6 separate regions of the Homo sapiens genome follow, and regions 1, 2, 3, 4 and 5 are each linked to region 6. The links are contacts of gene promoters, found by promoter capture Hi-C in blood cells and fetal thymus (Javierre and others, 2016). All regions are on one chromosome and are shown on one strand. Each heading gives the region's core, a stretch centred on a gene start or on the middle of the fragment in contact. The rest is flanking DNA. Distances are from core to core; before and after follow the strand shown. Region 1 overlaps CMTM4 (CKLF like MARVEL transmembrane domain containing 4). Region 2 has its middle 2.8 kb from the start of CMTM4. Region 3 overlaps CMTM4 (CKLF like MARVEL transmembrane domain containing 4). Region 4 holds the start of CMTM3 (CKLF like MARVEL transmembrane domain containing 3). Region 5 overlaps CMTM4 (CKLF like MARVEL transmembrane domain containing 4). Region 6 holds the start of CA7 (carbonic anhydrase 7).

Region 1 (4,217 bases), core at 169-2,668, 220 kb before region 6:
GAAAATACAATACACTGTGAGGTCAAACATCAAATAAAACAGTATCAACATTAACAGTGACTACATAAAAACAGAGATGCAGCAAAGGGCTAGAAAACAAACAGGCCGGGCACGGTGGCTCATGCCTGTAATCCCAGCACTTTGGGAGGCCGAGGCGGGCGGATCACCTGAGGTTGGGAGTTCGAGACCAGCCTGACCAACATGGAAAAACCCCGTCTCTACTAAAAATACAAAATTAGCCGGGTGTGGTGGCACATGCCTGTAATCCCAGCTACTCGGGAGGCTGAGGCAGGAGAATCGCTGGAACCCGGGAGGCGGAGGTTGCAGTGAGCCAAGACTGCGCCGCTGCACTCCAGCCTAGGCAACAAGAGCGAAACTCTGTCTCAAAAAAAAAAAAAAAGAAAAAGAAAAAAGAAAACAGTCAAAAATTTTAAAGTTGTAGGAGTATCAGTAGTTTTAAATTTGCTTTAGTAATGATCATTAACAGTAGTGAGTGAAGAATGAGATGATGAATGGGAACAGCAAATACAGGGAAAAAATATGTCAAAAAGCCTATTTTAAAAAGATAAAAAATAATCTTTCAACATGATCTGAGGCTAAGAAACCAGATTAAACCAGGGGAAAAAAACGCCAGCAACTGCTAACAAGAGCATAACATATCTGCCTCCTCAAATCCCACTGAATCATATTTAAATACTGAAGCACTTGCTTAAAAGATGAATCTAAATATAATTGAGCTTCTAGGACTGTGCTGTCCAATAGGGCAAACACTAGCCATATGTGACTGAAGTTAAACTAATTCATATAAGATAAAAAATTTCACTCTTCAATCACACTAGCCACAATTCGAGTGCTCAGTGGCCACATGTGACAAGTGGCTGCCTCAAGGGCACAGCAGATCAGAAAACATTTCAATTGTCAGAGCAGCTGCTATAGCACCACACTGCCCTGAGATCAATGACTAGGTCACAGAGAAAATGGGGAAAGAAGGACATATGAAACACTACCATGAGGGTGCATGCAGCCAACTCAACTGCAAGACCCTCTACAGGATAAATGACCCAGTTTTTCTAACAAGTCAACAGAATAAAAAGAAAAAGGGAGGCCAGGCACAGCAGCTCATGCCTATAATCCCAGCACTTTGGGAGGCCGAGGTGGGCGGATCACCTGAGGTCAGGAGATGGAGACCAGCCTGGCAAATATGGTGAAACCCCGTCTCTACTAAAAATACAAAAATTAGCTGGACCCCGTCTCTACTAAAAAATTAGCTGTGGCCAGGCGTGGTGGCTCACATCTGTAATCCCAGCACTTTGGGAGGCCAAGGTGAGTGGACAGCCTGAGCTCAGGAGCTCAAGACCACCCCTAGGCAATATGGCGAAACCCCATCTCTACTAAAACACAAAAAATTAGCCAGGCACGGTGGCATGCACCATGTAGTCCCAGTTACTCGGCAGGCTGAGGCAAGAGAATCGCTAGAGGCCAGGGGGCGGAGATTGCAATGAGCCAAGATCTCGCCACTGCACTCCAGCCTGGGCGACAGAGTGAGACTCCCTCTCAAAAAAAAAACAAAGTTAGCTGGGCATAGTAGCACATGCCTGTAGTCCCAGCTACTCGGGAGGCTGAGGCAGAAGAACTGCGTGAATCCAGGAGGCAGAGGTTGCTGTGAGCCCAGATTGCGCCACTGCACTCCAGCCTGAGAGACAGAATGAGACTCCGTCTCAAAGAAAAAAAAAAAGAAAAAAAAGGAAAAAAAAGAAAATCATATTGGGGGCCAGGCATGGTGGCTCCTGCCTGTAATCCCAACACTTGGGAGGCTGAGGTGGGTGGATTGTTTGAGCTCAGGAGTTCGAGACCAGCCTGGGCAACACAGCAAAACCCTGTCTCTACAAAAAAATTCAAAAAAATTAGCCAGGCATGGTAGTGCGTTCCTGTAGTCCCAGCTACTTGGAAGGCTGAGGTAGGAAGATTGTTTGAGCCCAGGAGGTCGAGGCTGCAGTGAGCGGAGACTGCGCCTCTGCACTGCAGCCTGGGGGACAGCGTGAGACTCTGTCTCAAAAAAATAAATAAATAAATGATATAAGGCAAAAAGGTCTAAGTATAAGGAAGCAAACAAAGTGCTCAATAGGGGAGTTGTTCAATAAAATGGTATTTCCATAATGGAACACTATGCAGTCATTAAAAATAATCACGTAGTTATATATTTAACATGTAAGGTACAATAATTTAAATGAAAAAGCATGATTTTAATGGTTCCATTTTTCTGCACTCACATATCACAACACACATGCATACGCAAAAGACTGTCTAGAGAGAACAGTTTAGAAGGATTTATACTCAAGTATTTTAAGTGGTTACCCTTCATTGGGTCATATCACGTATTTTTAAACAGCTTTATTGAGATATAATTCACATACCATAACATATACCCAATTAAAGTATATAATTCAATCACAATGTAATTTTAGAACATTTTTAGCACTCCAAAAAAAGCCTCATACGCATTAGCAGTTATTTCTCATTCCTCCCCCAACCCTAAGCAACCACCAATCTGCTTTCTGTCTCTATGGATTTGCCTATTCTGGACATTTTTTTTTTCCTGTGTGTGAAATCTGCCACAAATATTCTGGACATTTCATACAAATAGAATGACATAACATGTGCTTTGTGCCTGGCCTCTTCTGAAGGCGTGGCCTGCCCCTCCACACCAGTGGGATATCTCGTCAGGTGGGACGAGAGACTGAGAAAAGAAGTAAGACACAGAGACAAAGCATAGAGAAACAACAGTGGGCCCAGGAGACCGGCACTCAGCATACCAAGGACCTGCCCCGGCACCGGTCTCTGAGTTCTCTGTTTTTATTGATTATTATTTTCATTATCTCAGCAAGAGGAATGCGGTAGGAGAACAGGATGATAATAGGGAGAAGGTCAGCAAAAAAAACATGTGAGCAAAGGAATCTATGTCATAATTAAGTTCAAGGGGAGGTACTATGTCTGGATGTGCACGTAGGCCAGATTTATGTTTCTCTCTGCCCAAACATCTCAGTGGAGTAAAGAATAACAAGGCAACATTGCTGCCAACATGTCTCGCCTCCCGCCATAGGGCGGTTTTTCTCCTATCTCAGAATTGAACAAATGTACAATCAGGTTTTATACCGAGACATTCCGTTCCCAGGGGCAGGCAGGAGACAGTGGCCTTTCTCTATCTCAACTGCAAGAGGCCTTCCTCTTTTACTAATCCTCCTCAGCACAGACCCTTTACGGGTGTCGGGCTGGGGGACGGTCAGGTCTTTTTCATCCCATGAGGCTGTATTTCAGACTATCTCACGGGGAGAAACCTTGGACAATACCCGGCTTTCCAAGGCAGAGGTCCCTGTGGCTTTTAGCAGTGCGTTGTGCCCCTGGTTTATTGAGACTAGAGAATGGCGATGACTTTTACCAAGCATACTGCTTGTAAACATTTTGTTAACAAGGCACGTCCTGCACAGCCCTAGATGCCTTAAACCTTGATTCCATACAACACATGTTTTTGTGAGCTCAAGGTTGGGGCAAAGTGGCTGGGGCAAAGTTACAAATTAACAGCATCTCAGCAAAGCAATTGTTCAAGGTACAGGTAAAAATGGAATTTCTTATGTCTTCCCTTTCTACATAGACACAGTAACAGTCTGATCTCTCTTTTTTTCCCCTACATCTTCCACTTAGTATAATGGTTCTAAGGTTTATTCATGTTGTAGCATGTATCAGTACTCATTCCTTTTTATTACTGAATAATATTCCATTGTATAGATACACCACGTTATTTATCCTTCATCAGTTGATGGACATTTATTTCTACTTTTTGGTTATTATAGATAATGTAGCTATGAACCTACAAGCTTTTGTGTGAACAAGTTTTCATTTCTCTTGGGTCATCAGATGATTTTTTTTAAATTATCTATTATCTTCTAGTTTTTGGGGTTTTTTTGTTGTTTTGTTTTGTTTTGTTTTACAATAAGCACTTATTACTCACACAACTTGAAAGGCTTAATACTGGAATACTGCAAATCTTAAGTCAGCATCAAGCACTTGAGTTCCTGGGCCATGAAACAAATCAAGGCTGAACTGATCACAAATGAAATATTTGTACACAGAATCAGCTGGGGGCTGTCACTGCAATCCTGGTTGGCCCCCAAACCAATGTGCTAGGTGGCTGGCTCTAGCCTCTGTCCTATCCATCCAGG
Region 2 (4,312 bases), core at 1,072-3,571, 140 kb before region 6:
GTCTACGCATAAAGTAAGGTTAAACACAGATTTTGCCCCGAAGGGCATTAATTAGGGACCAATTTACAATTCAAGTGTGAAGGCTAATTTTAAGCTAAGTAAAACACTGACTAAGAAGTGTCGCTTTGATATTGAACCCTTCCACAACCACAAATACCGAGAGCTTGCCATGTTCTAGGCACTGAGCAAGGCGCTTGAAGAACGTATCGTTGTTATTTCTATTTTACAGAAGAAGAGACTAAGGCTGCAGACTGGAAGTAGCTTGTCCAAGGTCACACAGTTCATTGGTGGGCAGAGCCCAGGTTCCTACTTTTTCTTTTTTTAAAAAAAAGTTATTTATTATTTTCATCATCATTATTTTTGTAGAGATAGGGCCTCACTGTGTTGCCCAGGCTGATCTCGAACTCCCGGGCTCAGGGGATCCTCCTGCCTCAGCCTCCCAAATTGCTGGGATTACAGGTGTGACTGACCATGCCCAGCCCTCAACTTTTTCAAAGATAGGAAGGACAGTGACTCTAATACTGTTGTCCTTCTGTATGGGGGCAAGAGAGGGAGCTTGTTTTCAGGACCCCCTCAAATACCAAAATCTGAAGATGCTCTCAAATCCTTTATATAAAATGGTGTAGTATTTACATATAACCTACACACATCTTCTCGTATACTTTAAATAATTGTTCTACTGTATTACTTTTTATCTATATTTTTGTGTGTGCGTGTGTGTGTTGTTTGGGGGTTTTTTGTGTGTGTGTTTTCTGAGACAGAGTCTTGCTCATCACCCAGGCTGGAGCGCTGTGGTGAGATCTCTGCTTACAGCAACCTCCACCTCAAGCGATTCTCCCACCTCAGCCTCCCGAGCAGCTGGGACCACCACGCCCAGCTAATTTTGGCATTTTTAGTAGAGACAGGGTTTCACCATGTTGGCCAGGCAGATCTCAAACTACTGGCCTCAAGTGATCTACCCACCTCAGCCTCCCAAAGGGCTGGGATTACAGATGTGAGCCACCGTGCCCCACCTGTTTTTCTGTTTTGTTTTGTTTTGTTTGTTTTTAAAATAGACTTTTCACTCTGTCATCCAGGCTGGAGTACAGTGGTACAATCATAGCTCACTGTAACCTCGACCCCCTAGACTTAAGCAATCCTCCTGTCTCAGCCTTCTAAGTAACTGGGACTACAGGCATGCCACCACCATGCCTGGCTAAATTGTTTTTTCTTTCTTTTTTTTTGGAGATGGGGTCTCATTATGTTGCCCAGGCTGGTCTCAAACTTCTGGTCTCAGCAGTCCTCCCACTTCAGCCTCCCAAAGTGCTGGGATTACAGGCATGAGCCACCACATCCAGCTTATTTTTTATTGTTTTTTCCAAATAATTTTTTTTTTTGAGACGGAGTCTCATTCTGTCACCCAGTGGCATGATTGCTGCGCACTACAACCTCCACCTCCCAGGTTCAAGCAATTATTCATGCTTCAGCCTCCTGTGTAGCTGGGATTACAGGTACCGACTAACACGCCTGGCTAATTTTTGTGATTTTAGTAGAGACGGGGTTTTGCCATGTTGGCCAGGCTGGTCTTGAATTCCTGACCTCGAGTGATCTGCCCACCTTGGCCTCCCAAAGTGCTGTGATTACAGGCATAAGCCACTGTGCCCAGCCTATTTTATTCCAAATTTTTTTTTATCAGCAGTTGGTTGAATCCATAGCTGCAGAAACCACAGATATAGAGGACTGACCCTAAATCAACAAATATTTATTGGGCACTTACTATGGATTAAGCAATATACTAAGAACTTGAGATAGACAATGGTGCTAGACGGTGGTGACATTGAGTGGTTGGATGTAGACTCTTGCCTCTGCTTTCTCCCAAAATCCCAGTGAAATGACAGTTACAGGGATTTTTTTGAGGGGGTGGGGTTGGGCATTAAACTGTTGGGATAAAGAATGGCAAAGGAGGCAGGGCACCATGGTGCATGCCTGTAATCCTAGCACTTTGGGAGGCTGAGGTGGCAGTTCACTTGAGGTCAAGAGTTCAAAACCAGCCTGGCCAACATGTTGAAACCTTGTCTCTACTAAAAATAAAAAAAAAAAAAAAAAAAAAAAAATTAGCCATACATGGTGGCGAGCGCCTGTAATCCCAGCTACTCGGGAGGCTGAGGCAGGAGAATCACTTGAACCTGGGAGGTGGAGGTTGCAGTGAGCTGAGATCACCCCACTGTACTCCAGCCTGGGCTACCAAAAAAAAAAAAAATGGAATGGGAAAGGAGACAATGGCAACAAAATGTTGGAAGCTGGGAAGCAAATGGGCAACTGTAACTTAGCAGATCCAAGAAAGCCAAACCCTAAACTGGCAGGGGAAAGGCTGAAATATTATGCAGCACAGGTTATATCACAGAACAAAAGGCTCAGGAATGGGCAGCACCAAGTAAGTGTAGAGTTAGGGGGTGAAGGCAGGAGTAATAAACAAGAAGAGCAAGTGAAAGTCTTTTAAAGAAGCAAGTGGATCCCTAGATCCCTTTTCACACCCATCCCCCAAGACTGGAGCTTTGTTCTCTGGAGAGGGTGAAACAGAAGGCCTCTTAGTTAGAGATCACTAGGCACAGTTCAGGGAAGGAATACTGTACTAAAAACAGGTGGAGTAAGTGAAAGTTTGCTTAATGAATGAGACCCCCAGACATCCTTCCCGAGATCATGGTAGCCAAGACCTCACATTCTCTCTGGAAAACATGATTAGCACAAGAAGAAAGACCCAAAGATCCTGACAATGGAAGTACCCCAAAGTGGAGCCCAGCCAGATCACCCAACACAGAATCCCACAGTTGAGACTTCTCACCTACAGGCACAGAGCTTCCAATGAGCTTTTGAGGACTCTACTTTGAAATATAAATGACAACTAAGAGTCACCAAACATTTGAGGAAAGCCTATAACATAACAGAGGTCAAAACGAAGAAAAAGATATGTCATTAAATGTTTACAATGGTATATATATGTGTGTTCATATATATACCATTTTATACACATGTATATATCAGTATTCTCAGGTAAACTGAGAAGATACTGTAACCATAAAAAGTTTAGAATAAGGCTGGGCATGGTGGCACATGCCTGTAATCCCAGCACTTTGGGAAGCCGAGGTGGGTGGATCATTTACAGTCAGGAGTTCGAGACCAGCCTGGCCAACATGGTGAAACTCCATCTGTACTAAAAAAACAAAAATTAGCCCAGAGTGGTGGTGCATGTCTGTAGTCCCAGCTACTCAGGAGGCTGAGGCAGGAGAATCGCTTAAGCCCGGGAGGCAGAGGTGGCAGTGAGCCAAGATTGTGCCACTGCACTCCAGCCTGAGTGACAGAGCAAGACTCTGTCTCAAAAAAAAAAAAAAAAAAGTTTAGAATAAGGCTGAGTGAGGTGGCTCACGCCTGTAATCCCAGCGTTTTGGGAGGCTGAGGTGGGCAGATGGCTTGAGCCCAGGAGTTCGAGACCAGCCTGAGCAACATAGCAAGACCCCATCTCTATTAAAAAAAAAAAAAAAAAAAAAGTTTAGAATAAGATGTTACCAAAAAGGAATATTCAGAGAAAAAAAAAAACCTCTTAGACAAGCACATGAAAATATGCTCAATGTTATTAGTTGAAGGAAATTAGGGAAATGCAAATCAAAACCACTTCATAACTGCCAGGATAGCTATAATAAGAACAACAGGAAATTACAAGTGTTGGTGAGGATGTGGAGAAACTGGAACCCTCATACATTGATGGTAAGAATGTAAATGGTGTAACTGCTGGGTTGAAAGTTTGGCAGTTCTTCAAACAGTTACATAGAATTACTATATGACCCAGTAATTCCACTCCTGCGTATATACCCAAAAGAACTGATAATGGGTGGCCAGGCACAGTGGCTCATGCCTGTTATCCCAGCACTTTGGGCGGCCAAGGCAGGTAGATTGCTTAAGTCCAGGAATTCAAGACCAGCCTGGGCAATATGGCAAGACCCCATCTCTACAAAAAATACAAAAAACTAGCTGGGTGTGGTGACACATGCCTGTAGTTCCAGCTGCTTGGGAGGCTCAGGTGGGAGGATTGCTTGAACCTGGGAGAGGAAGGTTGCAGTGAGCTGAGATTGTACCACCGCACTCCAACCTGGGTGACAGAGTGATACCCTTTCTCAAAAACAGAAAAAAGAAAAAAAGAAAATAAAAGAAAGAAAAAAATTGATAATAGGTGCTGAAACAAAAACTTGTATGAGACATGCCAGACTCCATGATACAGGCCTGTAGTCCTAGCTACTCAGAAGCCTGAGGCAGGAAGAACACTTGAGCCCAGGAATTC
Region 3 (4,038 bases), core at 535-3,034, 170 kb before region 6:
TCTCACTCTGTCACCCAGGCTGGAGTGCAGTGGAGCAATCTCAGTTCACTGCAAGCTCTGCCTCCCAGGTTCACGCCATTCTCCTGCCTCAGCCTCCCAAGTAGCTGGGACTACAGACACTCGCTACCATGCCTGGCTAATTTTTTTTTGTATTTTTAGTAGAGATGGGGTTTCACTGTGTTAGCCAGGATGGTCTCGATCTCCTGACCTTGTGATCCACCCACCTCGGCCTCCCAAAGTGCTGGGATTACAGGCGTGAGCCACTGTGCCCAGCCATTTGCTGGATTTTTTAATGCTCTCAGAAAGAAAATGGTGCACACTCCTTTATTAGATTTGTTTAATTCAAACCTATATGACGAATTCTAAATCAGCCTTAACTATTTGTTTTAGATTCAAAGTAGAGAATAAAGCCTTCAATTTTGCCACTTAATCATGAAACAAAAATAATGTAAAGAAGGAAACAAAGCAATTTTCAAAATGGCAGCCAAAACAAAAGCAAGAGAGAGTCTACTACATGGAGCCAACCAGAGAGAGGCTAAAGCATAACAAAGCATCATGTTCAGATCTTAGTTGTGTATTTAAAATTTGTGCACTTCGGCCGGGCACGATGGCTCACGCCTGTAATCCCAGCACTCTGGGATGCCAAGGCGGGCAGATCACCTGAGGTTAAGAGTTTGGGACCAGCCTGGCCAACATGGTGAAACCCCGTCTCTACCAAAAAAAAAAAATACAAAAATTAGCCAGGCTTGGTGGCATGCACCTGTAATCCCAGCTACCCAGGAGGCTGAGGCAGAAGAATCACTGGAACCTGGGAGGCAGAGGCTGCAGCGAGCCAAGATCCAACCTGGGCGACAGAGCAAGACTCTGTCTCAAAAAAAAAAAAAAAAAAAATCGTGCACTTCTCTATACGTATATTGCACTTCCATAAAAAGTTCTTAAAAGTAATAATGTAGCCAGGCACGATGGCTCACGCCTGTAATCCCAGCACTTTGGGAGGCCGAGGTAGGCGGATCACGAGGTCAAGAGACTGAGACCATCCTGGCCAACATGGTGAAACCCCGTCTTTACTAAAAATACAAAAATTAGCTGGGCGTGGTGGCACGAACCTGTAGTCCCAGCTATTCAGGAGGCTGAGGCAGGAAAATCGCCTGAACCCAGGAGGTGGAGGTTGCAGTGAGCCAAGATCGGGCCACTGCGCTCCAGCCTGGCAACAGAGCAAGACTCCATATAAAAAAAAAAAAAGTAATAATGTAAATCTGTAATTTCAAAAACCACTCTGCATCATACCCTGAAGCAAACTGTGGTATGTGTAATAACCCATTTTTACAAGTATGCGCATGGGAACAAAGTCCAAAACAATGTAGACCTAACTGTTAATGGGAGTCCTCTCTAGCTGAGGAGAACACCAGTATTTTTACTTTTTTCTCTATTTTTCTACATCAGTCTGACTTTTTAAAACAAGGGACACAAATTTTTTTGTAATCAGAGAGTAAGTTTTTGCCATTTTGGAAAATATTCAAGATAAAAAAACTGATATTTATATTACAGACAAATTTATGTATGACTTGACTGTAAGCTCCTTGACGTAAAGCAGCTTTGTAAGCCTCATACAGTACCAGATTCCCAAAAGACACTTCACCAGATGTGCGGCTGGAGAATGAAGAATAGAAACAGGGAAGCCTTCTCAAAGAGAAGGGCTAACTTCGGGAGTCTCCAAATAGAGGGGAAGGAATCAGGCAAGCGGCACGGGTGGCTGGATGGAAGGAGACCTGTAAGTGATGGTGAAGAGGCCGAAGGCCTCCTGAGATGGAAACAAAGACGGGAGTGGGCCCAGGGGAGACAGAAAATTTGGAAGAGGTGTGAAGGAAAGGGTAGCACTCAGCAAAGACTTGTGATGGAGAGAACAACAATGGTTTCATAGGAAAACATCAGCGGGCTCACTGATCCCTTCTAGAACTAACCATTCCATTCTCATCCCTTATCTTCTCCTCCTCTCCCCTGAACCTCCAAGGAAAGTGACTCCAGACTGTTGCTTACACAGCTTGTCATGCTCAGAATCCTTAGCACACAAGAGGAGTGGGCACCTGACCCAGGGGCACCAACCCACAGGCTGGCCAGGCACCTATAACTTGGCCTAGCTGGGAAAACTCTACCCAAATAGACCATCAGATGCCCTCTGGCATTCAGTGAAATTAGCAACATGATGAGAGGACAGACAGACCAGTAATGAATATTTCAAATATATAATCTCCAGCCTGGGTAACACAGGGAGACCCGGTCTCTACAAAAAAATATTTAAAAAAAAAAATTAGCCAGGAGTGGTGTGGTGGCACACACCTGTGGTCCCAGCTACTCAGGAGACTTACAGAGGATCACTTGGACCCGGCAGGTCGAGGATGTGGTGAGCCATGATCATGACTGCACTCCAGCCTGGGCAACACAGTTAGACCGTGTCTCAAAATACACACACACACACGTATATATAATCTATCAGGATATATTTATAACACATATGTTGGTGCAAAAGTAATTGTAGTTTTTGTCATTAAAAGTAATGACCAGGCCGGGCACAGTGCCTCATGCCTGAAATCCCAGCACTTTGGGAGGCCGAGGCAGGTGGATAACTTGAGACCAGCCTGGCCAACATGGTGAAACACTGTCTCTACTAAAAATACAAAAAAAAAAAATTAGCTGGGTGTGGCAGTGTGCGCCTGTAATCCCAGCTTCTCAGTAGGCTGAAGCAGGAGAATCACTTGAACCCAGGAGACGGAGGTTGCAATAAGCCGAGATTGAGCCACTGCACTCCAGCCTGGGAGACAGATGGGAGGAGACACAGCAAGACTACGTCTCAAAAAAAAAAAAAAAACCTAATGACCAGAACCGTAATTACTTTTGCAACAACTTATATATATATAATATGTATATATTATTATATATAGGCTGATAATATAACCTATGTAATATATAAGTTAGTAACATATCTCAGAAAATGTAATACCTGCAACTCCACTAAACAATCTTTTATTATTCCTCTGATTCTTAAGGGTCACTTTTGAGTTACACTTTTGTTTTTTTTGAGATGGAGTCTCTGATTGCAGTGGTGCGATCTCGGCTCACTACAACCTCAGCCTCCCCGGTTCAAGCGATTCTCCTGCCTCAGCCTCCCAAGAAGCTGGGATTACAGGCACGTGCCACCACACCCAGCTAGTTTTTTGTTTTGTTTTTTTTTTGTATTTTTAGTAGAGACGGAGTTTCATATGTCGGCCAGGCTAGTCTTGAACTCCTGACCTCAAGTGATCCTCCCACCTCAGCCTCCCAAAGTGCTGGGATCATAGGTGTAAGCCACTGCGCCTGGCTTTTTTTTTTTTTTTTGAGACGGAGTCTTGCTCCCATCACAGTGGTGCAATCTCGGCTCACCACAACCTCAGCCTCCCAGGTTCAAGTGATTCTCCTGCCCCCGCCTCCCAAGAAGCTGGGATTACAGGCACGCGCCACCACACCAATTTTTTTTTTTTTTTTTTTTTTTTTGTATTTTTTAGTAGGGACGGAGTTTCACATGTTGGCCAGGCTGGTCTAAAGTGATCCTCCCACCTCAGCCTCCCAAAGTGCTGGGATCACAGATGTGAGCCACCACACCCAGTCTTTTTTTTTTTTTTTGAGACAGAGTCTCACTCTGTCATCCAGGCTGGAGTGCAGTGGCACAATCAGAGCTCACTGCAGCCTCAACCTCCTAAGCTCAAGCAATCCTCCCACCTCAGCCTCCCAAGTAGCTGGGACTACAGGCTCACACCACCATGCTCAGCTAATTTTTTTATTTTTTGTAGAGACAGGGTCTCCCTGTGCTGCCCAGGCTGGTCTCGAACTCCTGGATGCAAGGGATCCACCCACCTCAGCCTCCCAAAGTCCTGGAATTAGACATAAGCCACTGCACCCGGCCCACGTTATACTATTATTTACAGAAAATGCCTCAGTGTGCACACTGCAGATTCACAATGTTGTACTGTACTTTTGTGCAGCTACTTAACAGTGAAATGTGGT
Region 4 (4,216 bases), core at 477-2,976, 240 kb before region 6:
AACATTCCACAACAAACAAAGTAGCATTTAACATCAAGAGAAAAAGAGATAGGAGAAAGGGTTAAGGAACCAGTTCCAGGGTAAGGAAGAAGACAAAAGGAATCCTGGTCTGGGCTTGAGGGTCTTGCAGAGTCTTTGAGGGGCAGAGCCTTGGGAGGCAGATGCAGAGTTCTTATGAACGGCAGTGGGATGGTTGTCAGTTAAGGCTGCTGGGCTGCTGTTTTGTAGTCACAGAGTGCTCTGGTGAGAAATGGTAGAGGAACAGTGTGCTTCTTTGTGTCCTTATGTGGTTGGACGCAGTCTTTATTTATTTTTTTTTTTATTTTTTGAGACAGAGTCTTGCTCTGTCGCCCAGGCTGGGGTGCAGTGGTGTGATTTTGGCTCACTGCAACCTATGCCTCCCGGGTTCAAGCGATTCTTGTGCCTCAGCCTCCTGAGTAGCTGAGATTATAGGCACGGTGCCACCACGCCCAGCTAATTTTTGTATTTTTAGTAGACACGGGGTTTCACTATATTGGCCAGGCTGGTCTCGAACTCCTGACCTCGTGATCCACCCACCTCAGCCTCCCAACGTGCTGGGATTACAGGCATGAGCCACAGCGCCTGACCTTCTATTTTTTATTAAACAAAACATCTTGCCCTTGTTGGCAAAGCACCCTATGAAATATAAAATGAAGTCTTTTTCTAAGATGGAGTTAGTTATGTCAAGGGTGCGCAGTACTGTGCCATAAGCTCTCCCCCGGCTGCCCAGAGAGAAAACCTAAGGGCCTCTTAAAGACACCATCACAGCAGTTCAGCGGGGAGCAGGCAGGAATGGTTTCGGATCTAGTGGTGGTGAGAAGTAGACAGAGATCAGAGAAAGTTATAGGAGGTGAAAGTGGGAGGACCTTGGTTACAGACTGCCGGTGAAGAGGGACAAGGACAACCCGCAGGTCTCCGCTAGTCAGGTGGAAGGAAAGGAGGGGGCAGTGCCCTTCGCAGAGGCACAGGAAGCTGGGTCTTGATCACGCTGAACTCCAGACGCTCTCTAGATGTGCACGCATGTGCGTGTGGAGTGTGTGTGTGTGTGTGTGTGAGAGAGAGAGATGTGTTGGGGTGGGGGGACTGCAGGTCAGGAAGTCCTGCAGATGTGCGTGCCTGTGTGTGTTTGCGCGCGCGCGCGCGTGTGTGTGTGTCTGTGTGTGTGCCTGGAGCTGCGCTTGCAGGTCTGAGAGTCCTCTGAGAATGGGTTGGGGGAGGCGGGTGCAGGACCGAGGCCTGGAACAGCCAACAAAGAGGCCCTGGAGGAGGGTGGGGCTGGCCGGGGACAGGAGGGGTGGCCAAGAAAGTCGCAAGAAAACTCCGGCCCCCAAGAAAAAGAGAGGGCATGGGTTGCGGAGCCGACATCACGGCCGGGGTCTTTGCTGTTTAGACGCCTGGGTTCCCGGATCCCAGACACGCGCACGGGCAGGAAGTTAGACCGGAGACAGCGAGTATAGACAGCCCTTCTGGATAGGGGCAGACGGGTGGGAGCTCCGAAGGGGTGCCGGGGCGGTGATCGGGAGGTCTCCAGCGGCCCGAACCAGGGTGAAGAAGAAGGTGGAGTCTGCGGAGGCCCCAGGCCGGGGAGGGGGCGGGTCGGGCCCAGCATCCCCCGCAGCCGGGGTCCGAGGGGGAGGGGCGGGCTGGAGGAGCGGGTGGGGGCGGGGCGGGGCGTGGCGGCGGGGGATGCGCCCCTGCGCGAGCCAGTGTCGCCTGCCCTCCTTCCGCACAGCCCGGGTTTCCGCTTCCCTCCGGGCGCGAGAAGAGGGGAGCCAGGCCGAGCCCCGGCCCTACCGCCGCCGCCGCCATGTGGCCCCCAGACCCCGACCCCGACCCGGACCCCGAGCCTGCCGGCGGCTCCCGTCCCGGCCCCGCGGTCCCCGGGCTCCGCGCCCTGCTGCCGGCGCGGGCTTTCCTCTGCTCTCTCAAAGGCCGCCTCCTGCTGGCCGAGTCGGTGAGTGCGGCGGGACCCTCGGCCGCCCCGCTAGGACTGCGCGGCTCCTTTCGGAGGAGGACGTCGGGGCGCGGGTGGGGTCCGGGGGCGGCCGCCGTGCTCCGATACCCCCTCTCCGCGCCGCCTCGGCCGACTTCTCTCGGGCGCCTGGCGAAGTTGGGTCGAGGTCCCCAAACTTTGGACGGCGGGGCGGGGCCCGAGCCCAGGCCATCCGCGGCGCTGTCCCCGCGAGTCCAGAGCTGGGGGCCGTGGGAAGTGGGTGGGGCCCGGGGATGTGGGTCCTGCTGTGTGAGCCAGGCGCCCCCGCCCTCTCTGGGCCCCGGGGACTCGGGCAACTCGGACCTCCGGGACTCCCGGGCCGCAGCGGGGTCCGCTTTCCTGCGAGCGGGTAGTGCGGGCCGGGGCCTCGACCTGCGGGGCCGAGCCGGCGGGGGGCCGTGCGGAGCGGGAGGGATCCCCCACCCCCGGGACTGGGTGAGGCGGCCCCGCGGTGACTTCATCGCCCTCCTCCCCTCCGCGGCCGGGCTCCTTCCTACTCCGCCCTCGCCCCCACCCCGGCCGGTGGGGCTTCTTTGTCCTCTGGACACCGGAGGCGCCCGCACTGTCCGCTGTGGGGTAGGGGTGGCGCTGGGCCGTTGGGGATGGGGAGGGAGAGGCCGGGCCGGAGACCGGGGGAGGCGGGAGGAGAGAGCGGCGCACGGCGGCGGCCACTTGTTGCTTAGATCCCAGGAACTTGGCGCTTCCTGCCCTTGTCCCCACTTTACAGATGAGAGCGCTCAGGCGCCTGATTTGACAGGTGGCTCAACTGAGGGGCCCAGTGAGAGCGGCCAGGAGGGTGGGGGCAGGAGGAAGGGGGATTCTGCTCCGGGACCTCTCCCTGGTCACTCAGGGCAGAGGGCAGAAGGTGGTCCTGCAGCCTCTCCCACGGTCAGCCCAGAGGCCACCTGCCCAACGCCCAAGTGAGACACCAATGCCACACTCCGAGCCCACACTCCCAGCCCCACCCTGGAGACCACTGGGAGCCACTTGAGGGGAGAAGCCTCGAATCCACCGTCCCCAGAGTGGCTTGAACCCCCCCATCCCCACCCAAGACCACCTCATAAGAGGGAGGCATATGTCCAGCAGGAGCATAGAGGCCACCCTGGGCCCAGCAGATGTCAGGAATCCAGGTCAGGGAGGATAAGGAAGGGTGAACGGTCAGCACTCAGGGTTCACAGGAGCCGCTGAGGGCACTCCTGCCTCCCTAGTCCCCTCACTCCCACCCCCAGGCCAAGCAAGTGCAGAGGCTGAGATGGACAGAAACAGAGAGAGGAAGTGGCCCCAGAAATCGCGGGATGAAAAAACAGGAATTGAGAGGGGAATCCCCAGAATTAGGCTTTGGGGTGCAGGCATAGGAGACAGGAAGGGGAGGGCCAGAGCTGGGTCAGTCCCATGGAAGGCCTTCCTGGGAGGCCCCAGCAGCCTCCCAGCCCGTCTCTATGCCTTAGTCTATCTTTCCAAAGGGGGCTCAGCTGCACCCAAGGCCATGTGCAGAGCAAATGGGGGTGCTCTGGGGACCCCCTGGGATCCCTGCAGTTCATTTGTCTGAAGCAGCCACAGTGCTTCCTGTGGGGCATCTGGGTGTCCCCATGGGGACTCCTGCACCCACTAGAAACTACTCAGCCATAGACATGTTCAAACGCAGCCACAGTGACAGAAACCAGGGACAGATGGCCTCCCCAACACCCACAGGGCCAAGTTGCTTAAGAACTCTACCTGGGCCGGGCGTGGTGGCTCATGCCTGTAATCCCAACACTTTAGGAGGCCGAGGTGGGTGGATCACCTGAGGTCAGGAATTCGAGACCAGCCTGGCCAGCATGGTGAAACCCTGTCTCTACTAAAAATAAAAAAATTAGCTGGGTTTGGTGGCGGGCGCCTGTAATCCCAGCTACTCGGGAAGGCTGAGGCAGGAGAATCACTTGAACCCCGGAGGTGGAGGTTGCAGTGAACTGAGATCGTGCCACTGCACTCCAGCCTGGGAGACGGAGCAAGACTCCATCTCTGGGGCGGAGGTAAGATAACTCTATCTGGGGGGTCAGCCAGCCCTGGGTTCAAATTCTAGTAGCCTCTGATTAGCCATGTGACAGAGTCTTCTCATCTGTCAAGTGGGGCTGTGCTCATGGGTGGATGTGAGGGTCAGAGGAGATGCCCGTGAGCCTCAGGGTACCAGGCACTGTGGAGCCCCAGGCTGGCCAACAGGTC
Region 5 (4,335 bases), core at 674-3,173, 190 kb before region 6:
GACCACACGCGCACACACAGCAGGGTTCAAAGTGTCTTCAGAATCAGACGAAGCTCTAATCAACTCCAGCACATTCGAAATTCAAATGTCTCTATTCCTGCCAATACTGAAAAAATATCTGAAAGACGAGACAGGGCTTGTATTTAACCACAGACGAAAAAGGCTAGTTGTTAACGGCTGCTGGAAGACCTCAGAATGTGCAGAACAGAGAATCCAGAGGGGGCAGCAGAGAGCAAAGCAGGGACTGTGCTTCCGAAGCCAGCTCCTCTCTTAGCAACCAACAGGGGATGTTAAGATGGGCTCCTGGAGCCGGAACTACAGAAGAGGCACGAAGCCTCTCCGCACCATCTTTCACGGTGTTGAGATGGGGAGTTTTAAGCCACTCTTTATACACACGCTAAACAACAGATCACCTTAAAACATAAGTTCCCAGGCCAGAAGCCATTTATATGGTCTGCAAACGGGGGCAAATAGTTCTGCAATGCCAGGCACCTCCGAATAACAACGGCTTCCATTTAGGGAGCATCAATAAGGTAAGGAAGCTACAGGGCTCTGCACCAGGCACAGTCCAAACATCTCTGATCCTCACACCCCGACTCAGGAAGCAGGCAGCACCTCCATCGTGTGGCCAGGTCCCAAAGCTAGTTCCTCCCCTACCTCATTCTCCTAGATAAGATGCCTAACATATGACTTATCCAGAGTCTTCCCACCCCTTTCACCATGGGAAAAATCACCATGTATGATTTCTCTTCAAGGAAAGCAATACAAGACCTGGGGTAGCCAGTGCTGAGACTCTGACAAAGCCCACAACATGACTGCTCATTCTCAAAGGGATCTAGCTGTAGTAATATCTTAATTTTTCTAAGAAAAATAATCCATGAGTTTTTTCCCCTCCCAAGGGAGGCCATCCCATGAGGATGATAAACTTAAAATATCACCCTCCTCTCCCTTAAGACAATCGAGCAATGAGCAAATAATGTTTGGTTCTGAAACAAAGGAGCTAATTGCAAGTGTAAATTATTCAATCTGCAACCAAGGTGTTTGCATGTGATCTTTGGTTTCATTGCTTTTCTCTAGCAGTGCCCAAGCTAGGACCTGAGGGTAGCAAAGAAGTAATAGAAAATTACCTGCTCTGGAAGGGCAGAGATGGCCCTCAGGAGCTAAAGCCACCTGGGCTGGCCAGCAGGACTAATTAGTCAACAGTGATTAGTTGAGCAAAGGAGCCAAGAGGTGGAGGCAAGTAAGTTCCTCATTGTTGACAAGAAAAGGAGAAATGGGGTCAAAGGGAGAGGCTTCCAAGGACTCAGGATGGTGAAAGAAAACAAAGCGCAGGCAAGGCTGGGGTGCAGCAGACGGCAGCAAGGTGTGCACTCTCAAAGAAAGCCCGCCAGCCTCCGAGGCCACACTCCACTCTAAGTGGTGCTTACCGCAGACCCCTGAAGGCACCGTTTTCCACTGAGGACAGAAGCATTGGGTTGTTGATGCCCCAGAAAGCTTGGTTGGGTCTGGGTGTGGCCTGTGTCACTAAGGCCTATTCAATCAGTGTCCCTGACAGATGTTTCAAGCGGGTTCTCTGTGTAAACAATTTTGATATTTTGGAATTCTAAAGCCATAAATAAGAGTTGAACTTTGGACATTGCATTCAATTCAATTTTTTGGCAAGATTCTCACCTTCAACGTAAATTTTCATACTTAGAAGCATGCTCTAACGCATACATTAAATCCACAGGTTACCCATCAACAACGGCTGGATACTGTATCACAGGCTCCAATTAAAATAGGTTTATTTTTTGGTATCTAACTACTTAGAGCACACAAACAGGGTTATCCAATAAAGTGCGAAACATTTTCTTATTTTTAAAAGAAAATCCAGAAATCCTTATTATGTGGTTTGATGATATAACTGCACATGATTTCAGAAAACCACAGGACGGTCAGCATCTTTCTTGCCAAGAGATTGCCCACAGAATCTTATTGCGAATGCTACCCTGCTCAAAAAGTCAAATTTTCAGACCGTTTAAATTAGTAATGGAGCAAAAACAAAGCACATGTAGAGGACAGAGGAAACAAGCTGCCCTTAAAGCATAAACATCTGAAGCTGTTTAACTACACTGCTGCCATTAGGATCTTCTTTTCCCCTTTACTTTCTCATGGTCCTAGCTTCATAGATGAAGCTGAAATCCCAGAAAGCAGTGTCGCATCCCCAGAATACAAAAGCAAAACCTCCCCCTTTCCTTCCTCTTCCTGCTTTACTTCCTGGGTACTTCCCCAACCTAACAACTCTGGCCAACCACCTTAACTGAGAGTAAGGACACAGCATTTCTCATTGAATGAGAAACGAGCAGGCTGGGAGAAGCTTTTTGCTAAAGATTGATTTCAGCCAAAATAGTGAACTGCATATCATACATAAGAGGCCAGATGGAAGTCCATTGGGAAAACCCAGCTCAGTCGTGAGACCCACTACCCTGGCAACCCCCCAGGACCTCTACACCATCCAGAGAGAGAGGTCTTGGAACCAGTCTCTGGGAGAGGGAGATGCAGTGAGCTAAGGGTTAGCAGTACAGGCCCAAACCTATGACCCCCAGGGCCGCCATCCTTACCCCATAGGTCAGGGACTACTGTTCAGCATGGTGGTTATAATGGTGTCCCCAGCTCCAGAGACAGTGAGAACAGTGGAACCTAGAATGTGTGACACTGTGGCCTTCCTTAAAAAGTCTATATTTGCTGAGCCCTTCTACTATGAGTCAAATACAATGCTGGGCACTTCTATAAGCATTCTAGCCTTTAATTTAAAATTCATTCCATCCTGATAGAAACATGGTTGGTTGGGTTTTGTTTGTTTGTTTTTAAGACAGAGTCTTGCTCTGTTGCCCAGGCTGCAGTGTAGTGAGCAATCTCGGCTCACTGCAACCTCTGCCTACCGGGTTCAAGCAATTCTCCCTGCCTCAGCCACCCGAGTAGCTGGGATTAGAAGCGTGTGCCATCATGCCTGGCTAATTTTTATGTGTTTTTTTTTAGTAGAGACAGGGTTTTGCTATGTTGGCCAGGCCGGTCTCAAACTCCTGGCCTCAAGTGATCCACCTGCCTCGGCCTCTGAAAGTGCTGGGATTAAAGGTGTGAGCCACTGCACCCAGCCAGTTTTTAATTAAGATATAATTCACACACCATAAAATTCACTCTCTAAAATACACAATTCAGTGACTTTTAGTATATTCAAAGTTGTGCAACCATCACTATTACACAATTACAAAACATTTTCATCACCCCAGGAAGAACATGGTTTTTAATCCCCATCCTATTGACAAGCAAAGTGAAGCAAAGTTGTTAAGCAAACCAGCCAAGATAAGTCTTGTTAACAGCAGAGTTGGGGTTCAAATCTGGACCCCAGAACCCTCTACAGCACTAGGCACTAGTGATCACCCTCCACCTGCACTGGACTTCCACTGCTCCCCCTTGCCATCCTGCCTCCTGTCACATGGCAGGTGCTCTCCAGGGCCTCGCCTCTGCTGCCTTCTCATGAAACACATGCTTACCAACAGACTCCCTCCTCCAGACTCACACTCCCAAATTCACCCTTCTAGTCTGAATGTCTTTCTAAGCCCCAGACCCAGGCCATAACTGTTCCCCCACAAACTGGGCACCTCTACGTAATATCACCAGGCACCCACAAATGTGAGTGCAAAAATCCTCTTGCCGTTAGCATAGCCCGTCGCACAGTAGTTAAGGAGTGGGGCTCTGGAGGCTCACGGCCCTGGCCCGTGATCCCAGCTCTGCCACTGTGACCCTGGGCACATTTACTTCTCTTCTCTGAGCCTCTCTTTATAAATTGTAAAATGGGTTTTCTTTTATTTATTCAACTGTAAAATGAATTAAGGGGCAATTCTGATGCTAAAGGATTGCTGTGAGGATTAAATGTAAAATACTTTGCACCATGCCCAAGAGTGAGTATTCAGCTAAATGGCAGCCACTGTCCTTACTATGTGAAAGGGCCAACAGAGCCCTCAGATATATTTCCTGTCTTCACCAAGCTCCAGTCCAGTAAAGAAATGTGAACATGTAGAATGTACCCGAATTTCCTTTTTGTTTTTTGGGTTTCGGGGGGCTTTTTTGAGACAGAGTCTCACTCTGTCACCCAGGCTAGAGTGTTGTGCTCACTACAACCTCCGCCACCCAGGCTCAAGCCAACCTCCCACCTCAGCCTCCCAAGCAGCTGGTACCACAGGCACACACCACCATACACGGCTAATTTTTCTAATTTTTGTAGAGACAGGATTTCGCCATGTTGCCAAGGCTGGGACTCAAGCAATCCACCTGCCTCGGCCTCCCAAAGTGCTG
Region 6 (4,243 bases), core at 1,561-4,060:
GGTAAACACTCTCCCTAGCTTCTCCTAAGTCCTTTTAGAGAGGACTTGCATACACACACAAATGAGAGTCAAATTTAAAATCCGCTTCCTCCCTTTCCAGTGATTTTGGACAATATTGAACGAGGGACCCAGCAGCCCTGGGTTTTCATCTTTGTTCAGTCACTCACTGTGCATCTTCGAGCCCATCACTCATCCTCTCTTGAGCTTTGCTTTTCTCATCTGTAAAATGGGGTAAAAATCCCCCCAGGGTTACTATGTAGATGAAGTTGGATGCAAAACTATATGAAGAATTCCAATTGTATCTTTTTTTTTTTTGACACAGAATCTCACTCTGTAGCCCAAGCTGGAGTGCAGTGGTGCAATCTTGGCTCGCTGCAACCTCCGCCTCCTGGACTCAAGCAATTCTCATGCCTCAGCCTCCCGAGTAGCTGGGACTACAGGCACCTGCCACCATGCCTGGCTAATTTTTTGTATTTTAGTGGAGACGGGATGTCACCATGTTGCCCAGGATGGTCTTCAACTTCTGAGCTCAGGTAATCCGCCCGCCTCAGCCTCCCAAAGTGCTGGGATTACAGGCATGAGCTACTGTGCCAGGCCCAGTTGTATCTTTTAAGAACTACAAATAAATATGAAAAAGACCTGAGTCCCTCTGAAGAGGAAATGGGTCAATGGAGTTTGGGCTATCCCCAGAGCTCTCTCCCAGGTAAAGGATGTTGGCAGCTCTCCCAGGTAAAGGGTGGCTGGCTTCTCTGGGAGACAGAAGGTCCAGGCCTCACCCAGAAGCATGCCTTTGTCTTCTTGATCTGTAGATGCCATTTCCAGCTTGGAGACCTGGGGCCTTGACAGTGTTGGATTCTCTGTCACATCTGGTCTTGGGGGCTACTTATCTCTGTCATAAGTCCCCTGCCCCACCCTAGGGTCATATTTATATTAAGGATCCCTTCCTGCTCCTGGATCAGAGAGGGCCATCTTCGCAGGCCTGGGCAGTCACTGACATTGGCCCACCCAACCAGTTATCAATTAATCTCCATAGCTCTATCTGAGGATCTGGGGTTCAGGGCCTGGGAGAGGGAAACTGAGACAGACACAGAGATGAAGGGGAGCCAGGCAGACAAGATGGCAGATTCCTGTACAAGGTCAGCCAAGAGCAGGGCCTGAAAGAGTGTCTCTATTCAAGATCTGGACAGCAGACATTGTACTAGTGGCTGTTCGACTCCTGCTGAGTACAGGACCCCGGGTGGGATCATTTATCTGTCCTTCCATCCACCCCTCTGTTTGTCTTTCCAAAACTGCCTGCTGAGGACTAGCCAGAGACAAGCCCTCTCCCTGGCACAAGGCCACGTGCTAAGATGAATCAGATTGGGCCGGCTGGAGCCAGTGGGTGGAAGACAGAGGACGCACCAGGTGGAGGGCACAACAACGACCAGGGCTCGTGGGTGGGAAAATACTGGGCCAAGGCAGGCACTGGGGTTGAGTGCAGGGTGGAGGGTCTGAGCTCCCAGGGGGTGTACTGAAGGTTATGGGGAGGTCAGGAGAGGAGGGACAAACAGCAGGCTATGGAGGGACAAAGCAGAGTCCCTGAAGAAAGGAGGAAGCAGTAGACAAAATAACAGGGAGGGTGGAAGTCAGAGCCTCAGACTTAGCTCCATGGGGAAGCCACCTGGTGTCTGCCTGTCTTCAGGCCCATTGGTTGATGCCACTCCTTCTCACTCCCCCTTGGGGGATCTGGTTCCACCTGGGCCAAGGGTTCACATTGCCATTCCTGTCCCTGCATCTACCCCAGGGTTCCCGGACCCCCACACTCACAGCACACCCTTGTACCCAGCACCAAGGAGAAATGGTAAAGACCCCAGTGTCAGGCCAGGAGTGGTGGCTCACTCCTCTAATCCCAACACTTTGGGAGGCCAAGGCGGGTGGATTACTTGAGGCCAGAAGTTCAAGACCAGCCCAGGCAACATGGTGAAACCCCCATCTCTACAAAAAACACAAAAATTAGCTGGATGTGGTGGCACACACCTGTAATCCCAGCTACTTGGAAGGCTGAAGCAGAAGAATCACTTGAATCAAGGAGGTGGAGGTTGCAGTGAGCTGATATAGCACCAGCCTGGGTGACAGAGCAAGACTCTGTCTAAAAACAAACAAGCAAACAAACAAACAAACAAACAAATCCCACAAAACCCCCAGTGTCTGGAGTAAGAACCCCAGCTAATGAACCCTTTACCCCCTGGCTAGATGACCTTGGGCAAGTCACTTCACTTCTCTGGGCCTCACTCCCCTCCTCTGTCAGATAGGGCTGATGGAAGCACCCAACCTTGTAGGGTAACAGAGAGGGTTATACCATAGGAAGGACCCAAAGCTTGGTCCAGCGCCTGCAACAGCCTCTGGCAAACAGTGGAAGCTCCAGTTTTGGACACTTGATGGTCAGTGTAGTTTGCAGTTTAAAGGGGACTTTCCAACCCCAAAAGATTCAGGACCCAGAGCTCAGGTCTCTGGTGGTGGCATTTGCAGGTCTGGGGCAAGCCTAGGGAAGGGACGCCATGTGCGGCACGGGCATCTAGTGTCCCAGAGTCCGCACGGGTTGCTGGGGGAAAAAGAGGGATAGTCGCCCAGCCAGGGCAGGGGTGGGAGTTGGGGGGAGAGGGTTACTTCCTCCTGCCCTGAATCTCCGCTCGGGGTTCAACTGGCTCGCCGGCGGGCGAGGGCGGGGCAGGCCGGCCTCTCTGGCCCTGCTGGGGGGTGGGGGGCGGGTCCCCCGGGAACTGCTCCTCCCGCCAGCCGCTGCTTTAAGAGGCTGCTCCGCGGTAGCGAGCGGGGCCGGAGCCGCAGCCCGAACGAGCGGACCGAGCCGACCGGGCAGGTGCACGGCTGCGGGGACGGCAGCGGCATGACCGGCCACCACGGCTGGGGCTACGGCCAGGACGACGGTAGGCACAGACCTCCCCCACCGCCTCTGGCTCGGACCCCCGACCCAACTGCACTCGCCCCAACCCTCTTGCCCAGCTGGTTTCCCAGACCGGAAAGCTCCCACACTCCAGGCTGGGCGGGACCCCTCTTCCCATCCCGGCCCCCGAACTTGGCCCAAGCCTTGGTCCCCCGCGCCAGACGCAAAGTCCGCGCTGCGCCCCGGGTGGCCCCGCCGCCAGCAAGCGACCTGGCGGCTGTGTCCTGCCGCCTCCTCCGCGAAGCCCCTGATTGCCCAGCCCGCTCAGACCCAGGCCCAGACTCTCACTCACTCGCCCCGGGCGTGCGCAGCGCGTGGGGGTGGCCCAGGGCAGCGGGGGGCGGGCGCCGCGGAGCGCTGTGCGCGGGTGTCTGCGGGGAGCGCGCACGGCAAGTGAGCGGGGACCTCGGGGGAGCGGGGCTCCGCGTGGCAAGGGCGCAGTGTCCCCCGGAGAGAATTTCCCCGCAGAAGTGGCCGAGCTGCCTTCTCGGCCGGTACGTGAGGGAAGGGGGCACTTGGGGGCGCAAGCATGTGTCTGGGTGTCTACACCGAGCAGGGTGTTTGCGCACGTCCGGGTGTGAGTCGTGGGAGCCCGTGGCCCACACCAGCCTCCTGGGCTGACGCGGAAGAGAGCTCCTTCATCCTGCCTCAGTTTCCTTAGGACTCAGAGAAAGGGAGAAGAGGCAGAAGGTGAGAGCCAGACGGCTGGAGTGTGGGTCTGGGGCAGTCAATTCCCTTTGGGGCCATTTCTTACCAAGCAGGGGTGGGGGTGTGGGGTAAGGGGTTCCCTATTTCCCTGGGGAGCCAGTGCAAGACAGGTGGGGTGCGGAGAAGAAAAAGTAATGATGGGAGGAACATCCCCCAGCCCCACTCCTCTGCGGAGAGGCAGTCACTTTGTGAGGTTGGGTGGGGGACCACAGTCTGGGAAGCCAGAAAGTTGCAGTAGACCAGAGGGAGGGTGCTGTGGAGTCTTTGGCTCCCTCTGGGGCCCCAAGAACAAAGGAGCATATTTTGGAAGAGAACCCCCAGATCTGGGTATGCAAGAGCTGGAAAGAGACATTCAGAAAAAGATGATATAGACAAGCAGAGAGGGAGAGACAGGCAGACATGGGGCAGATGGACAGGACCCATAGGGATCATCTTCTCCCAGCACCTGCTCTGAGCCACCTTTTGGGTGCTTCCCCCAGAGCCAGAGTCCCCTGCCTCCAGCTCTTCTTGCTAGTCATGCCCACCAGCTCTGAGCACCCAGTGTCCTGTGTAGCCTGCTCCATGGGCCTGCTCCCCCAAAGCAGCCACCCCATC

What was found. The method cuts DNA at HindIII sites, captures the fragments that hold promoters and counts their contacts. A CHiCAGO score of 5 or more calls a contact.
Region 1: a fragment that was not itself captured here is called in contact with the fragment with the promoter of CA7 in region 6 in 1 of 17 cell types (endothelial precursors); the score reaches 8.4 in endothelial precursors.
Region 2: a fragment that was not itself captured here is called in contact with the fragment with the promoter of CA7 in region 6 in 3 of 17 cell types (erythroblasts, endothelial precursors and M1 macrophages); the score reaches 5.6 in erythroblasts.
Region 3: a contact is called between a fragment that was not itself captured here and the fragment with the promoter of CA7 in region 6, in 3 of 17 cell types (endothelial precursors, erythroblasts and M1 macrophages). The highest score is 6.6, in endothelial precursors.
Region 4: the fragment with the promoter of CMTM3 here is called in contact with the fragment with the promoter of CA7 in region 6 in 17 of 17 cell types (erythroblasts, naive CD8 T cells, M0 macrophages and 14 more); the score reaches 19.8 in erythroblasts.
Region 5: a fragment that was not itself captured here is called in contact with the fragment with the promoter of CA7 in region 6 in 6 of 17 cell types (endothelial precursors, erythroblasts, M1 macrophages and 3 more); the score reaches 10.7 in endothelial precursors.

Annotation. Positions count from the first base shown.
Region 1 is chr16:66,625,050-66,629,266 of GRCh38, forward strand. All of the region lies in intron 2 of CMTM4 (CKLF like MARVEL transmembrane domain containing 4), which reads right to left. Among named protein-coding and RNA genes, the nearest start is that of CMTM3, 22 kb to the left of the region's middle. The HindIII fragment of the contact is 4,903 bases long and covers 1-3,870 here.
Region 2 is chr16:66,697,405-66,701,716 of GRCh38, forward strand. No RefSeq gene overlaps it. Among named protein-coding and RNA genes, the nearest start is that of CMTM4, 2.8 kb to the left of the region's middle. The HindIII fragment of the contact is 4,672 bases long and covers 1-4,312 here.
Region 3 is chr16:66,669,569-66,673,606 of GRCh38, forward strand. The region is part of intron 1 of CMTM4 (CKLF like MARVEL transmembrane domain containing 4); the gene reads right to left. Among named protein-coding and RNA genes, the nearest start is that of CMTM4, 25 kb to the right of the region's middle. The HindIII fragment of the contact is 5,328 bases long and covers 1-4,038 here.
Region 4 is chr16:66,602,978-66,607,193 of GRCh38, forward strand. CMTM3 (CKLF like MARVEL transmembrane domain containing 3) reads left to right here and starts at 1,727. Exons shown (of 5, transcript NM_181553.4): 1 at 1,727-1,975. The coding sequence starts at 1,829. It also overlaps a transcript of CMTM4 not described here. RefSeq lists silencers at 1,612-2,451, 2,512-2,731. The HindIII fragment of the contact is 16,414 bases long and covers 1-4,216 here.
Region 5 is chr16:66,650,905-66,655,239 of GRCh38, forward strand. All of the region lies in intron 1 of CMTM4 (CKLF like MARVEL transmembrane domain containing 4), which reads right to left. Among named protein-coding and RNA genes, the nearest start is that of CMTM4, 44 kb to the right of the region's middle. RefSeq lists an enhancer at 82-376. The HindIII fragment of the contact is 862 bases long and covers 1,493-2,354 here.
Region 6 is chr16:66,841,604-66,845,846 of GRCh38, forward strand. It overlaps CA7 (carbonic anhydrase 7), which reads left to right and starts at 2,811. Exons shown (of 7, transcript NM_005182.3): 1 at 2,811-2,924. The coding sequence starts at 2,885. It overlaps LOC124903699 (a long non-coding RNA gene), which reads right to left. Exons shown (of 4, transcript XR_007065088.1): 4 at 1-219. RefSeq lists an enhancer at 2,739-3,240. The HindIII fragment of the contact is 7,096 bases long and covers 2,355-4,243 here.